Regions from separate parts of the Homo sapiens genome. Here region 1 is linked to region 2. The links are contacts of gene promoters, found by promoter capture Hi-C in blood cells and fetal thymus (Javierre and others, 2016). All regions are on one chromosome and are shown on one strand. The core of a region is centred on a gene start or on the middle of the fragment in contact, and the rest is flanking DNA. Distances in the headings are between cores, read along the strand shown.

What was found. The method cuts DNA at HindIII sites, captures the fragments that hold promoters and counts their contacts. A CHiCAGO score of 5 or more calls a contact.
Region 1: the fragment with the promoter of VTA1 here is called in contact with the fragment with the promoter of STXBP5 in region 2 in 5 of 17 cell types (total B cells, naive B cells, activated CD4 T cells and 2 more); the score reaches 13.3 in total B cells.

The regions. Positions count from the first base shown.
Region 1 is chr6:142,142,584-142,149,195 of GRCh38, reverse strand. VTA1 (vesicle trafficking 1) reads right to left here and starts at 1,933. Exons shown (of 8, transcript NM_016485.5): 1 at 1,797-1,933. The coding sequence starts at 1,908. It overlaps NMBR (neuromedin B receptor), which reads left to right and starts at 2,074. Exons shown (of 4, transcript NM_002511.4): 1 at 2,074-2,152. RefSeq lists enhancers at 1,232-1,752, 2,007-2,146, 1,910-2,204. The HindIII fragment of the contact is 1,973 bases long and covers 532-2,504 here.
Region 2 is chr6:147,201,425-147,208,034 of GRCh38, reverse strand. It overlaps STXBP5 (syntaxin binding protein 5), which reads right to left and starts at 3,618. Exons shown (of 28, transcript NM_001127715.4): 1 at 3,353-3,618; 2 at 1,967-2,064. The coding sequence starts at 3,502. It overlaps STXBP5-AS1 (STXBP5 antisense RNA 1), which reads left to right and starts at 3,421. Exons shown (of 11, transcript NR_034115.1): 1 at 3,421-3,622. It overlaps LOC124901422 (a long non-coding RNA gene), which reads left to right and starts at 4,464. Exons shown (of 2, transcript XR_007059803.1): 1 at 4,464-5,219; 2 at 5,742-6,159. RefSeq lists silencers at 3,476-3,665, 3,836-3,915, 3,936-3,985, 4,016-4,435. The HindIII fragment of the contact is 4,433 bases long and covers 3,047-6,610 here.

The sequences.
Region 1 (6,612 bases), core at 684-3,183, 5.1 Mb after region 2:
AGATAAAGGCGTAAAGCTAACTTATGGACAACTATTTCAAACTTACCTATAAGGCTGGAAAAGCAGAGCTGCAACTTTAGGGAATGATATGGTGAGAGTTTATGTTATATTTTTAAATAAAGGAAACTGGATTAGGTTTAGAAAAATCTAGAGGGAAAGGACGACAGTGAGTAAGGTGTCCCTGGTTTGTCACAAAGATACATGATACAGGGATCGGGAACAGGAATTTCCTTTAGGGATGAGAGATTCTTTGACCTTATCCCATCACTCCCAAGCCCCATCCACTCCAGTCACAATAGTCTACTTACTCCTCCTTCCAGCAAGCCTCTACTTCGGGACTTTTATAACCTCTATGGAGAATACTCTTTCCCAGATGGTGCAAGGTATGCCTTTCACTCTTTTATTTCCCCAAATGTCAATTCAGTGAAGTGTTCCTGACCACTATGAAACTGAAATCCCATCTGCACTCCCTGCCACCACTACTCCTGATACTCTTATTCCTTTTCCTTGCTCTATTTGTCTTCATAAGCTTTTAATACTCTATGTATGATAGACTCTATATTGTTGAAACTCTCTACCTCCATTGTATGTAAGCTCCAAAAATGCAGCAAATGTAGTCACAGCGCCTACTAATGCTTGATACAAAGGTAGCTCAATGAACACATACTGAATGAATATGGACCCTGCTTGAGGAAACTGAAGAACAAGTATAATAAAAATGATGCTGTAAAATTTGAACAAAATGAAGTAATGCACAGAGAATAATCAATTTGCTGCCCACAGAAGTGGTGACATTTGGGTTAGATCTTGAATCATGAGTTTGCCAAGTGCAAGAAAAAGGTGCACATTCCAAGAGAGTGGAAGATGGTAGGTCTGAAAAGGCCTTGCACATTTGAGAAACAGGGTACATTTGGAGTATGGCAGAGATAACAGTGACCAGATTTTAGCTAACCTTACAATATACACAACAATGGACGCATTATATCCAACTTCTCAACTCTAAATATCCTTTTCAGAATTATAATTGTCCAGTTACTTGTTTTATTTGCAGTAAAGTTAAGAGTACAGAATACAAAATAAAGTTAACACAGAATTACTGGCACTCCCTTTACTCACTACAAGTTTGAGCAGAGTTAACCTATATTTTTTTTAATCAAACTGTAAATTCAACGTATAACACTCAAAGTGAAAATACTGCTTTCAAAGGTCTCAACAGCGGGTATTATTCAAAGAAGTCAAAACTAAAAATTCTGCATGGTAGGAGAGAGCAGCTGGGTGGGGAAAGGTCAAATTCAACTGCTTATTTAGTAGCAGATACTCCCCATTTAACCAAATGAGTTTCTGATTGGGCTTGCATGCTGTCATAAATAATATTCACTTATTACTATGTTTTCAACTAGTCTATCGTCCTTTTATCCACATCACTCCTTCTTTCGGACACTCACCTTCGTTTTAAACCTAACTCAATTTATTTTCAGGATTCCTATTTGAGACAAGAAGCTCTTGTGTGTACACACACAGAGAAAACCTTGGAAGATTATATTCCACAGTTCAAGAGCCTGTGTAGTCAGTACTGGAGCATTTAAGCACAAGATAGGAGAAGCAGTGGACACCATGGTGTTTTGGGATTCCTACTGCCAGGGGGTGGGAACCCAGGGAGTTCCCTGGGTAGGCTCGAGGTCAAAGCTCAGGTTTAAAGCGAGGGGGGCGGGGCATGCCCCAAGAACCTCAGGGAGGTGTGTGGGCCCTAAAATGCAACTGGGAAAGAAAGGGCGCGGCCACTCGGAAAGACTCACAGTAATAAGCCACCACAGGGTCTCGCTTGTCATGCTCCTGAGCCGTCCTCAGATGATGCTGTATGCTCTTGAACTGTGCGGGGAGCGGGGGCAGCGGTGCAAGCGCGGCCATCTCTACTCCGAACTCACCACTTCCTACTCGCGCTCCACCGGCACTTCCGCTTCCGTCTGGGCGGTAGCGCGCACGAGCGTTCAGAGCAAATGCTGCCCACTCTTCCGTTGCTCAGCGACGTCAAGTCAACTACGGATCCCCAGCTGGGACAACCTCAGGGTGCTTGGCTCTCGGCGGTTAGAACCCACAGAAGACCCGAGCATTTTGGCGCTTATGCCGCGCATGGCGCTAGCGCTCTCTGCTGGTAGGAGGAAGGGTTTTTGTTTTGTTTTGCTTTTTTGTTTGGTTTGTTGTTTGTGGCAAAAGGAAGGATAGAAAAGGAAAAACAAGAAAATAATGTATGTTGACTGGGAGAAAGTATAAAGGCGAGAATTGCCTTTGGCGTCATTCAGGAATTACCACTTCCAGTTAATATGCCACATTAATATTCCATATAGCAGTGTCCTTTAGAAGCCTTTTTGATTTTAGAAACTTTAATTTCAATACTTGCATGAGAGAGAAATAATGTGTTTAAATTGTAAATTAAATTTTTCTATGTTGACATACTGGATAAAATAATCAGATTTCGCGCCAAATTAAGCTAAACATATGAAGCTTAAAGAAGATTGAACTTTTGTTCTCAGCTGGCTAGTACGTATTTTAGTGAATGAATAATCTGTAGATCACCTTTTTTTTTTCTGGAGAGTGATTAACAATTTGTAAAGTATTTTCATATTTATTATCTTGTCTTAATGTAAGATAGGGTGTTTGGGACGTTTTCAACGCTGGTAACTCTTAACCATTGTACAGTAGGCATCACTTTTCCTTCTACCCTCAATGACTTCAATTCTCTTCCTCTCCTCTCCATCCCTTACTTATATCTTTCAGGACTGTACACTTTATTTACTTCCTCCAATAACCTTCTTTATTTTATCTCAGTCCTCAGTTTTGACAATTCATCTTAAAACTAGTTTTCACTGAAATCACACTATCCCCAAGAGCCAAAATCTCCAGCTCGGAAATTCCCCTCTGCCTACTATTTTCTGATCACTCTCTCACCCCCAGAAGAAACCGCTCCATGTCCTCATATTATCCCACTCCACATACGTTGCCTAGACCTATTTGCAAAGTCCATCATCTTATTCTGGGTCGGGCTTTTTTACTCAGCCTGAAACTCAGTTCTGTCTTCTTCCCCAATCTCAGCGGCATATTTCCTACCACTGGAGAATGTATGGTTTCTTTCTCTTTCTCTTACTCCCACTATTTGGACTTTCCAGTCAAAAGTTGCTAGATTGGTAGAGAAATCAATGAAGAAAAGCAGAGTTGGATAACCATAACTGTTTTCTTTCTATACTCACAACTTTTCATTTATTTGTTTCCTATTACTTCTTGATTCTCAACCGCAGCTGCCCTTAAAGATCAACTTTAAAGCCCACTCCAGGCATTCTCACTTAATTGTTCTAGGTGGGATCCTAAATGTCAGTATCTTTAAAAGGTCCTCATGTAATTTTAATGTTACGTCTAGGGTTAAGGACCAGTGCTGTAGTCCACAGATGGTGTTTCAAACTTCTCTCGCTCTATTCAAGCTAGGCACTCAGCCCCAATTTCCTTGGTCTACAACAGCATTTCCTGCTATTGAGATTAAGGCCACCACCAGATATGAATTATTTTGCCTTGCCTCTACCACAACTTAAAGTAATAATAACTAGCTAGCAGCATTTGCTGAGCATCAACTATGTATCATGCATGTTTCTAGGGTCTTTATATTAATTTATTTAATTTGCACCACAACCCTATGAGGAACATATCATTATTATTTTACAGATGAGAAAAATAAGACACATAGAATCTAGATAACTTGCACTAGGTCACAGCCAGGAAGGATGAGTATTCCACATTAAAATCTAGGTATTTTGGTTTCAGAGCCTGTGCACCTAGCCATTACTACTTGACTATGATGTCTTTCTAGATCTTATGTTTTATCTTTTCTCTATTCCATCATCTTATGTCTGAGAAACAAATGTTCCTCTTCCTGGTAGAAGGCTGCACCCTCCTGTTACTCTCCTGATCTCCCCCTTCAGAAGTGAATTTTGCCACTCTTTCTCATTTGCATACATTCATGTGTACTCTTATTTGCATACCCTCATGAGCAGGACTGAGGGAAAAATAAGAAAGTGAAATGGTTGGAGTTGGATTTTACTCTCTGATCTGCCAACACATGCTCTTTTCTTTTCTTTCTTTTCTCCTTCCTTCCTTCTTTTTTTCTTTCTTTTTTTTTTTTTTTTTTTAGACAGGTTCTCACTCTGTCACCTAAGCTGGAGTGCAGCACACTATCAGAGCTCGCTGCAGTCTTGGACTCCTGGGCTCAAGGATCTTCTTGCCTCAGCCTCCTGAGTAACTGGGACCACAGGCACATAACACTATGGCTAATTATTATTATTTTGTTGCCTAGGCAGGTCTTGAACTCTTAGTCTCAAGTGATACTCCTGCCTCGGCCTCCCAAAGTGCTGAGATTACAGACAAGAGCCTCATGCTCTCTTCTTTCTAAATATGCTAACCCTTTCATGAGATGATAATTGATTTGATGGAGAACAGTACAGAGACAGTGTTAGTGTAACACACATTGAAATTATGCTATAAAACAAATATTAATGACTGTGAGGTTGCTTTTTCTTGTTTTACTATGATATTTTACTAGAAAGACCTACATTCTTCTTCTCCATTCATCTCAGACCAGTTTCTGAAGGATCTGACATCACCCTCTAGGACTGGGCTAGAACCTTGGCAAGTAAGGGGAGGGCAGAGCTGTAGAACAAAATAGGGGGTGAGGGCAACCATAGGAAGAAGAAAATGGAGAGAAACTAGAGCTGACAGGTGTTTTGATGGGAAAAAATGTTTTACACCATACCCTACATACACACATGTATGTGTGATCATCTGACAATAAAAATATTCTGTGTCCGTTTGGTCAGAACCATCTTGTTGGCAAATGACAGGGCATCAGTCAATGTAATCAGGATAATATATATATCTATAGCTGTATCTTTTTAAGATACTGTATGTGGTAGAAATTTGGCTTCCAGTATCATGAGACTAACATCCTATTATTTTAGCATCCCCCCCAAGTAGAAATAATTTTTCCTTAAATTTTCCGCAGAAGAATGATAGGGAAGACCCTGAAAACTTGGCCAGGACCATTTGCCACCCCATCCGCCCATGGCTGGGACATGTAGACACTATAAACATTGCATTTTATGTTTTAAACACGGATATTTAATTGTTCCGGCACATTTAAAACAATAAGCTAACTATATACGAATATAATGTATTCACAAATGTGAATTGCATTAGCACATTTAAAACAATAAGCTAACTATATACGAGCAAACATATTTCCAGTCTCTTGATTGTTCCCATTCCATATGCCTATCTTCATGCCCGGTCCACATGATTTTGATTATTGTACCTTTAAAGAAGTCTTCAGAGTATGTAGTGTAAGTCCTCTGTCTGTTTTTTTTTTTTCCTTTGCTTTTGCAAAATTGTGTTGGCTATTCTACATCTCCTGTATTTCCATATAAATTTTAGAAACAGCTTGTCAATTTCTATATAAGTTTCCTAGGATTTTGACTGGAATTATATTGAATTTACAGATCAGTTTATAATGACTAAAGTTACAAATGAGTAAGACTGCCAAGCCTTACTCGACATGGTTTATTTTTCCACTTAAAATGGTGCAGTGGCTCACGCCTGTAATTCCAGCACTTTGGGAAGCCGAGGAGAGTGGATCACCTGAGGTCAGGAGTTTGTGATCAGCCTGGCCAACATGGAGAAACCCCGGCTCTACTAAAAGTACAAAATTAGCAGGGTGTGGTGGCACATGCCTGTAATCCCAGCTACTTGGGATACTGAGGCAAGAGAATCGCTTGAACCCGGGAGGCAGAGGTGGCAGTGAGCCAAGATTGTGCCACTGCACTCCAGCCTGGGCGACAGAGCGAGACTCCGTCTCAAAAAATAAAAAATAAAATTAAAATTAAAAAGTCTTTAATTATTTTCATCACTGTTTCGTAGTTTTCATTGTACAGGTCTAGCACATATTTTGAAAAATTTATCACTATGCATTTCATATTTTTTATTGCATTGTAAATGATTTTTTACATTTAAATTTTATTTTTTATTACTCTATAGAAAAATTATTCCTCATAAGTTTATTTATATATATTTTTAAAGTTAGAGTCTTGTTCCGTCCCCCAGGCTAGAGGGCAGTGGTGCAATCATAGCTCACTGCAGCCTCAAACTCCTGGGCTCAAGTCATCCTCTTACCTCAGCCTCTGGAGTAGCTGGGACTGCAGGCAGGCACCACCATGCCTGGCTAATTTTCTTATTTTTTGTAGAGGTGGAGTCTTGCTATATTGCCTAGGCTAATCTCAAACTCCTAGACTCAAGCGATCCTACTGGCTTCACCTCTAAAAGTGCTGGGATTACAGGCATGAACCACAGTGCTTGGCCTATAAATTTAATTTTTTGGAACGTTCTTTAGAATTTTCTATGTACATGACCATGTCTGTGAATAAAGATTTATTATTTTGCAATTCATATATTGTTTGTGTTATTGTACTTATTGCATAAATATATATTTATATATATATGTTTATTTTGTTTTTGTCTTATTGAATTCCAGTTCAACGTTAAACACAAATGGAAAAAGTAGAAAGCCTTGCCTGTTTT
Region 2 (6,610 bases), core at 2,369-4,868:
ACCTGATCCTTGATTTTAATTGGCAATTCACACTAGGCCTAACGCTTTACACCTTTTGTGCCAACTTGCTAATTACACAAATGCATTAGGGTAAAAGTGTTGTCTAAGAATCTGGTTTTATAAAATCAGCCTTGCTGGTGGTACTCACTTATAATTATACTAAATTATAAAAGGGCCAGATTGGATGTTACAAGGAAAAGAGGTTATTTACCAAAAGAATGTCGAGACCACACTGGGAAAACAATAAAACCTAAACTCATTTTACAGAAAAGCAAAATAAGGGAAAAATAGCTGATTTAATTCAACTTTACTTTCCTTCTTCTAGTCCAGTTATGAAATTATCTTGTTGGGAAAAAAAAGAAACTGCTTTCAGTTCCAAAGAATGCATCTAGATCCAACGCTGTACTAGTCTCGTCACTACAGAGTTTTGCTGAACACTCAGGGCCCACACTGACAAAATAACTTCATTCCCGTCTTCACACAACCCTAAACTAGATGGTCTTGATCACTGAGTTCAGGAATAAAAATATCTAACAATTGAAGCCAAAAAACATTCTGGTCATAACTATCTAGATATTTGGGCAAGAGCACTTCAGACACACCGTCTCAGAAATTAACAGATTCAGATCTAGCCTGGTCAGATTTTGTCGTTTATAAAGGTATGACTGCGTAGTATTTACTATGTATAGTAGACTTCACTTAGTAACACAGTTCAATAGTCCATCCTAAAACTTCTATTAGCATTTTGAAGATAGCACATTAAGTGACAAATAAAACTTGAGGCATTATCTATCTATCTATCTATACATATATATATATTTGTATGTATCACATAGTACTTCTTTGAAATAATGACTTTAAAATGTAAGTAAAATGCCTGGCACATGTTTAACTCAAATGCAGGTTCCCTCACTCCTTCTCAGGAACCAGAAAAATCTAAAATATAAAGGGGTAAAGCTCCTCCCCTATCGTATATTTCTTTTCTTTTTTTTGACAATAGTAATGTCTACTGAAATCATCTAGTGATTTTTTTTTTCTATTTATCACCAACACATTACTCATTAATATGCAGGAGGTAGATATCCCACAGATAGATGAATCCAAATCTTAAGTTTAAGAATATATTTAGGTTAAGTATGTTTCAAAGTCACAGTAAAAGAAAACACATTTCAACATAAAAATAGAAAGTGAGTCGTCTGTACTGTTCTCACTAAAAAATTATCTTGAAAAAAATCTTTTGAAGTATTTAAAAAAATGCTTGATAAAACTAATATAGTTCATACACAACCAGGAAAAGTAATTCTATACTACTAGTTTAATGTATAGTAACCTAACAGTTTTTACAAATACATAACAAATGTAGACTATGAGAGAAAAAGTATATCAAGAGAAAAAATTTATCCCCATGCATTTTTCAAGAAAACGCTCTAAAAACTGGTAGAAATATTAACCATTTATAACTATTCATAGAAAATTAATTTGCTACACTTCTGCTAATTGTTTTTCTACACGGACATGCCAAAAACAACCAAATTCAGATTGAAATCCAATCTCTAATTTATTAGAATAGGTCATAAGTTCAATATCTACCATGCATAATATTTTTAAAAGTAATTGTCTTTAAACCTCATCCTTAACATACCTCATTCATCACACCAATAGTATAGAAGCAGATATATTTTTCCTTAGAAACTTCTATCTCCTTACAAATAAAATAGTTATCATAAAAAAACTTTAGACCTCTATTTGGATATATGTTTAGCTACTATAAACTAGGAGCTGAGAAACATCACAGCAGTATATAAGCTGAATTATAATCAAGGGAAAAGCCAACACATGATTTCTCATAGTATATATCTAATCACACCAACAGGAAAATAAAAACTTTCTTTGGAACTAATCAGCAACACAGAAGGACTGGGGAGAACAAAGTAGAAGTTAAAAAATAAAATTAAAGAAAGGATACAGCCTTAAAGCACCAGTCTGAGTTCCCACTGCCAGGATCTTCTGTACAGGATCAAAGGCCAGGGCTGAGGGTTGATAGGGAAATCCATGGCGAACAGTCTAGGGATGGGCAAGTGACATCACAGCAACCAAGGCAGCAAGCGAAATTTTAAAATAGAAAGTCAATAGAGGCGTTAGAATTTAGAACCACTACCACTGATGCAAAACACATACACATGCACTTACTGCTTTTGAAAAAATAAGTGAAACCTACATTAACAAAGTTATTCACATAGAACCTGAAACAAACAAAAATCTAGTCCAGTGATATACTTTAATTTCGCTTTTCCATAATACTGGTATTCCATAGAAGAAAATCTTTTATTAATATTCTATACTACTACATCCGACACCAGATGACTAAAGTTTGCAATGGTCCAAAATTCTGTAAACCCATTAAATGCAATTCATACTTTATTTTGGCAGTATTCATTTCATCATTACTTTATTTGGATGCTAACGCAAGTACTTCTAAGGAAAAGCTGTCATATAATTACTTTAGTCAAGCATTCAGTAGAGCAATAATCAAACCTCTATCCCAACATTTTACACTTGTAACAGAATGAAGATGAGTACAACATACATTTTTGCAATTTACTATTAAGGCCATAATCATTTTAGGGCATTAGACCTATATATATATATATATATATATATATGCACACTTTTAATTAACTCTGACATACAAATACATGGCTATTTATGAGAAAGGCAGGTATTAAAACCGAGGCAAGTTTGTGTTTCTCATTAAGCAGCTGGTGACTTAATTCGCTGCATCATTCTTTCTGAATTACAGAACGCTATGGCAATTATCGTGCCATTAACAGGCAAAAATCTCAGTACTTTTTAACAAACATAATGATAAAAAGAACCCTGTGATTTCATATCGTAAGCCACTTACACCACATTTTAAGGGAAAAGTGATGAGCAAAGGTGTGGTAGAACAGGTTTGGCTTTTTGATAAACAACATTCATTAGACACCGTTTCCAAAGGAAACTTCGAAGTTGGTGAATCATATTAAAACGCTTGAATATAAAAGCTTCCAGGTTATTACTGGCAGTGTCAGAATACGATTAAAGGTCGGATAATAGTTTGAAGCAACCTTGAACTGATTGCTGCATGTGCAAAGGGGAGAGAGAAAAATCAATGAAAAGGAGTAAGGTATCAATCTCCAAAACAACCCACCGAAGAAACGTTTGCCAAGGGAGGAGCGAGCCTTTTATTAGAGTTATTATTATTATTATTGGCGTTCTCTTCCCTTGCATTCCCATGTAAAGCCCGAGTAGCCCCCTTAAAACAACCCCAATTTTTCAATGACGGTGTCGCGGGGCTGCGCGCTCCGTTCACCTTGCAGAGCTGAAAGTGCTCGGACTGGAGCGTTTCCTGGATCTCCGGCTCCCGGTTCCCAGGCGGATGCTGCTGCTGTTGCTGCTGCGACGCCGAGGACGAGCCGGCGGTCAGGCCGTCCAGCACCTTCCTGATGTTGAATTTCCTCATGGTCTCGGAGGGGCTCCCCCGCAGCCCGGGAGGGGAGGCACAGGGGGTCCCCGGGCGGGGGAGACCACCCGGGGCCGAAGGCAGCTTCGACCGCGGAAACGGAGGAGTGGGAGTGTGAGGGTAAGGAGGCAGCTGGGGGGAAGCAAAAGATAATCCGAACAGGAAATACTGCGACGACAAGAGCGGCGGCCGCAAGAAACCTGGGCGGCGACCCCTCTTCCTCCGAGGCCGCCGCTGCTTGGCGCGGCTGCTGTGGTGCCGATTCAGCCGCCGCCGCCGCCGCCTCGCTCCGCGGCCCGGCAGCAGCAGCAGCAGCAGTGGCGGCGGCGCCCGAGCCCGCTCAGCCCAGCCTCACCTGGCCGCGGGCGGACTCTGCGCCGCGCCGCCGCCCCGGCTCGCCCCCGGCGCCGCCACCGTCGCCGCTGCGTCCATGGCCCGCGGCCGCGCCGCTGCTCGCCCGCCCCGGCCCCGCAGTCCCTCGGCGCGTCCTCCGGCTCCTTCTCCTCCTGCCGGGGGTCGCCGGCTCTCTGTCCGCGGCCGCCGCTCGGCCTCGCACACAAGGCGCCTGGTGTGGGTCCCCGCGCCGCCTGCCTCGCCCCGCCTCGCTCCTCCGCCGCTGGACCGGCCCGCCCTCGCCGCTCCCGAGCCCGGCTGCGTTCCTCAGGCGCCGCCGCGGCCGTCGGCTCTCCCCGCCCAGCCGCTCCCCATCGCCTGACAGGGCGCCTCGGCACACGGCACCAACGCCCGCCCGGAGCAGCAGCGGCAGCCGCGGTTACAGCGCGGGCCGCGGCGGTGGCGGCAGCAGGGCCTCCCAGGAGCCGGGCTGCGGTACCTGCGCATGCGCGCCGCAGCCCGGTTCCCCCACCCTGGCCCAGCAGGCCCCCAGCCCCCCAGCCCGAGCGAAGCTGGGGCTTAAATTATCTTCTGCGAAAATCCCAGACGCTGGCTAAATTTCTCCCACCCCAGTCGAGTTGCCAGAGTATGCAGCTGCTTCTCTTGCAGCTGGCATAGTAAAAATGTTGACGACTAACAAGCAGCAGGAAACCTTTCTTTCCAATTCAGTCATTACAGCAGGGGTTGATGCTTTCTCGCCGTTAATGGGGTGCACGCTCCTGGCCGCTGGCTGCAGTATTATTTTTCTTGCTTTATTGACGGGCGTTGTTTTTGTTTGATTGGATTTGAGTTTTGAAAAAGAGCGTCTAGACAACGATATGTCAGTGGCAGGAGGATGATGGACTTAGGTACTAGGAAAAGGAGAGAAACCTAGACGGGAAAAAACGGGTTCTTTCCTACAGCTGTTACTGTTGGTGGAACGTGTCTGGTCTTAGCAGTTAGCTGCTGGGATGGAAGAGGCTGCCAGCGGGGAACGGTTCCAGGGCCGGTGTCAGCCCGGGCCGATGACACTACCCCGCACCCAGCCCCTCGCCGGGGAGGAGCGCGGGTGGCAGGAAACGCCGCGCTGCCACTATTTTTCAGAACCTTCAATCTGCCCTGACGCTGATGAGCCACTCAGTAATGCCCTGGGAGCTTCACTCTAGAACGGGGAAAGGGGGATAGGATGAAGTTTTTGCTCAGATCTTTCCGAGGCCGCACTGCCCATCTCGCGTGAATGCTTGGAGACAAATGCCTGGCTCAAGTTGGAAAAGACAGACAAGAGATTGTGCCGGGGAAACCCCCCGGAGAGTGCGTTCAACAGGACAGGTGGACGGAAGCACAGGTACTTGATTAGGAAGGATGTGGAAATAGGAAAGACGTAAGGAAGGAAGGAAGTGCAGGAAGACTAATCCTAATTCGGGGAGAGGGGGACAGGTTCCTAGCGAATGACTCCTCGCGCGCTCTGGTCTGCGGAAAAGCCACGGAACCGCCACAAAGGGTTTTTTTAAGTTCCAAACCTGTCAGAAGCACCCGCCCTCTTCTTTGTGAGGTCGGCTCCCTCTCCTTTAGGGAAATTCTCGTCACCCTATTGGTTGAGTTAACCAGCATTCAAAAGCAGTCAGCGAACCAACTACGACTGGGCCCAGGGATTTCGGGAAATGTAGTCCACTCTGCAGCTTCCGCATCCCAGGACGATGTCTTGCATTTGGAACCTACAAAATTTTGATTTGTCGTTTAATATTTATTGAATTAGTTGATTCGCTGGGTGCAACGACCAAGAAAACAAATGTGAGGACATTCCTAAACTATTTCCAAGTGGCTCTGAATTTTTTATTAATTTAGTTCTCTAACATTTTGTTGTCAGGCGGTGTGCTAGGTACTAAAGACACGAAAATGCAATCCTTGCTTTCAGCAAGCTCACTACGGTCTAACGGAGACGACTTTTAACATAAATAGTAATTGTAAAACGATGTGATGAGTCCAATGATGGAATAATGAAGGAGGACGGCAGAGGGCCACTTAACTGGCCAGGAAGGCTTGGACATGGTGACGCCCACCATAGATCATGCCGGATAAGGAGGAGCAGACCTAGCGAACAGGAGGCAAAGACCATTGGAAGACAATGGGGAAGAGAGCCTCAGAATTACCTTGAGAGCTTTTTAAAAGTACATGTGATTCCACAGGGGGAAATTGCAAAACAGACAGATCACAACCCCATAGAATTGTATGATCTGCCTTTTTACTTACCTAGGTCTAAAATAAATCTATTGGATAATTTTTCATCATTGGATTATAAAACTTTCTAGAAAAAAAAGACAACTTCTTGTTGAGAGGCTTTGTGGTGTAGTGGGAAAATATAGGCTTTGTTGTCAGCCAGCCATGAACTTCAGTCCAGGCCATGGTAATATGTGTAATCTTGGGCAAATTTTAAATTTTTCTAGGGATCAGATTCCTCAGGTTTAAAATGAGATTAATACCACCTTCTTAGAAATTTATGAGCATGAACTGGAGGGGGAAAAGAAAGAATATGAAAAGTTTGTACTGCATTGCTTAGTACTCTGTAGACACTCAAAAATGTCAGTTTCCTATTCTATCAGGGTCCTTGAGGTAAAGGGGACTTCAAAGAGTCACCAATTTAAGCCAGTTTCCTACTTCTGACTCTAGAATGTTTGTTTTTATTTCTATACTCTATCTTTTCCATCAGGTTATGAACTCATTCTGACATTCTCAAAA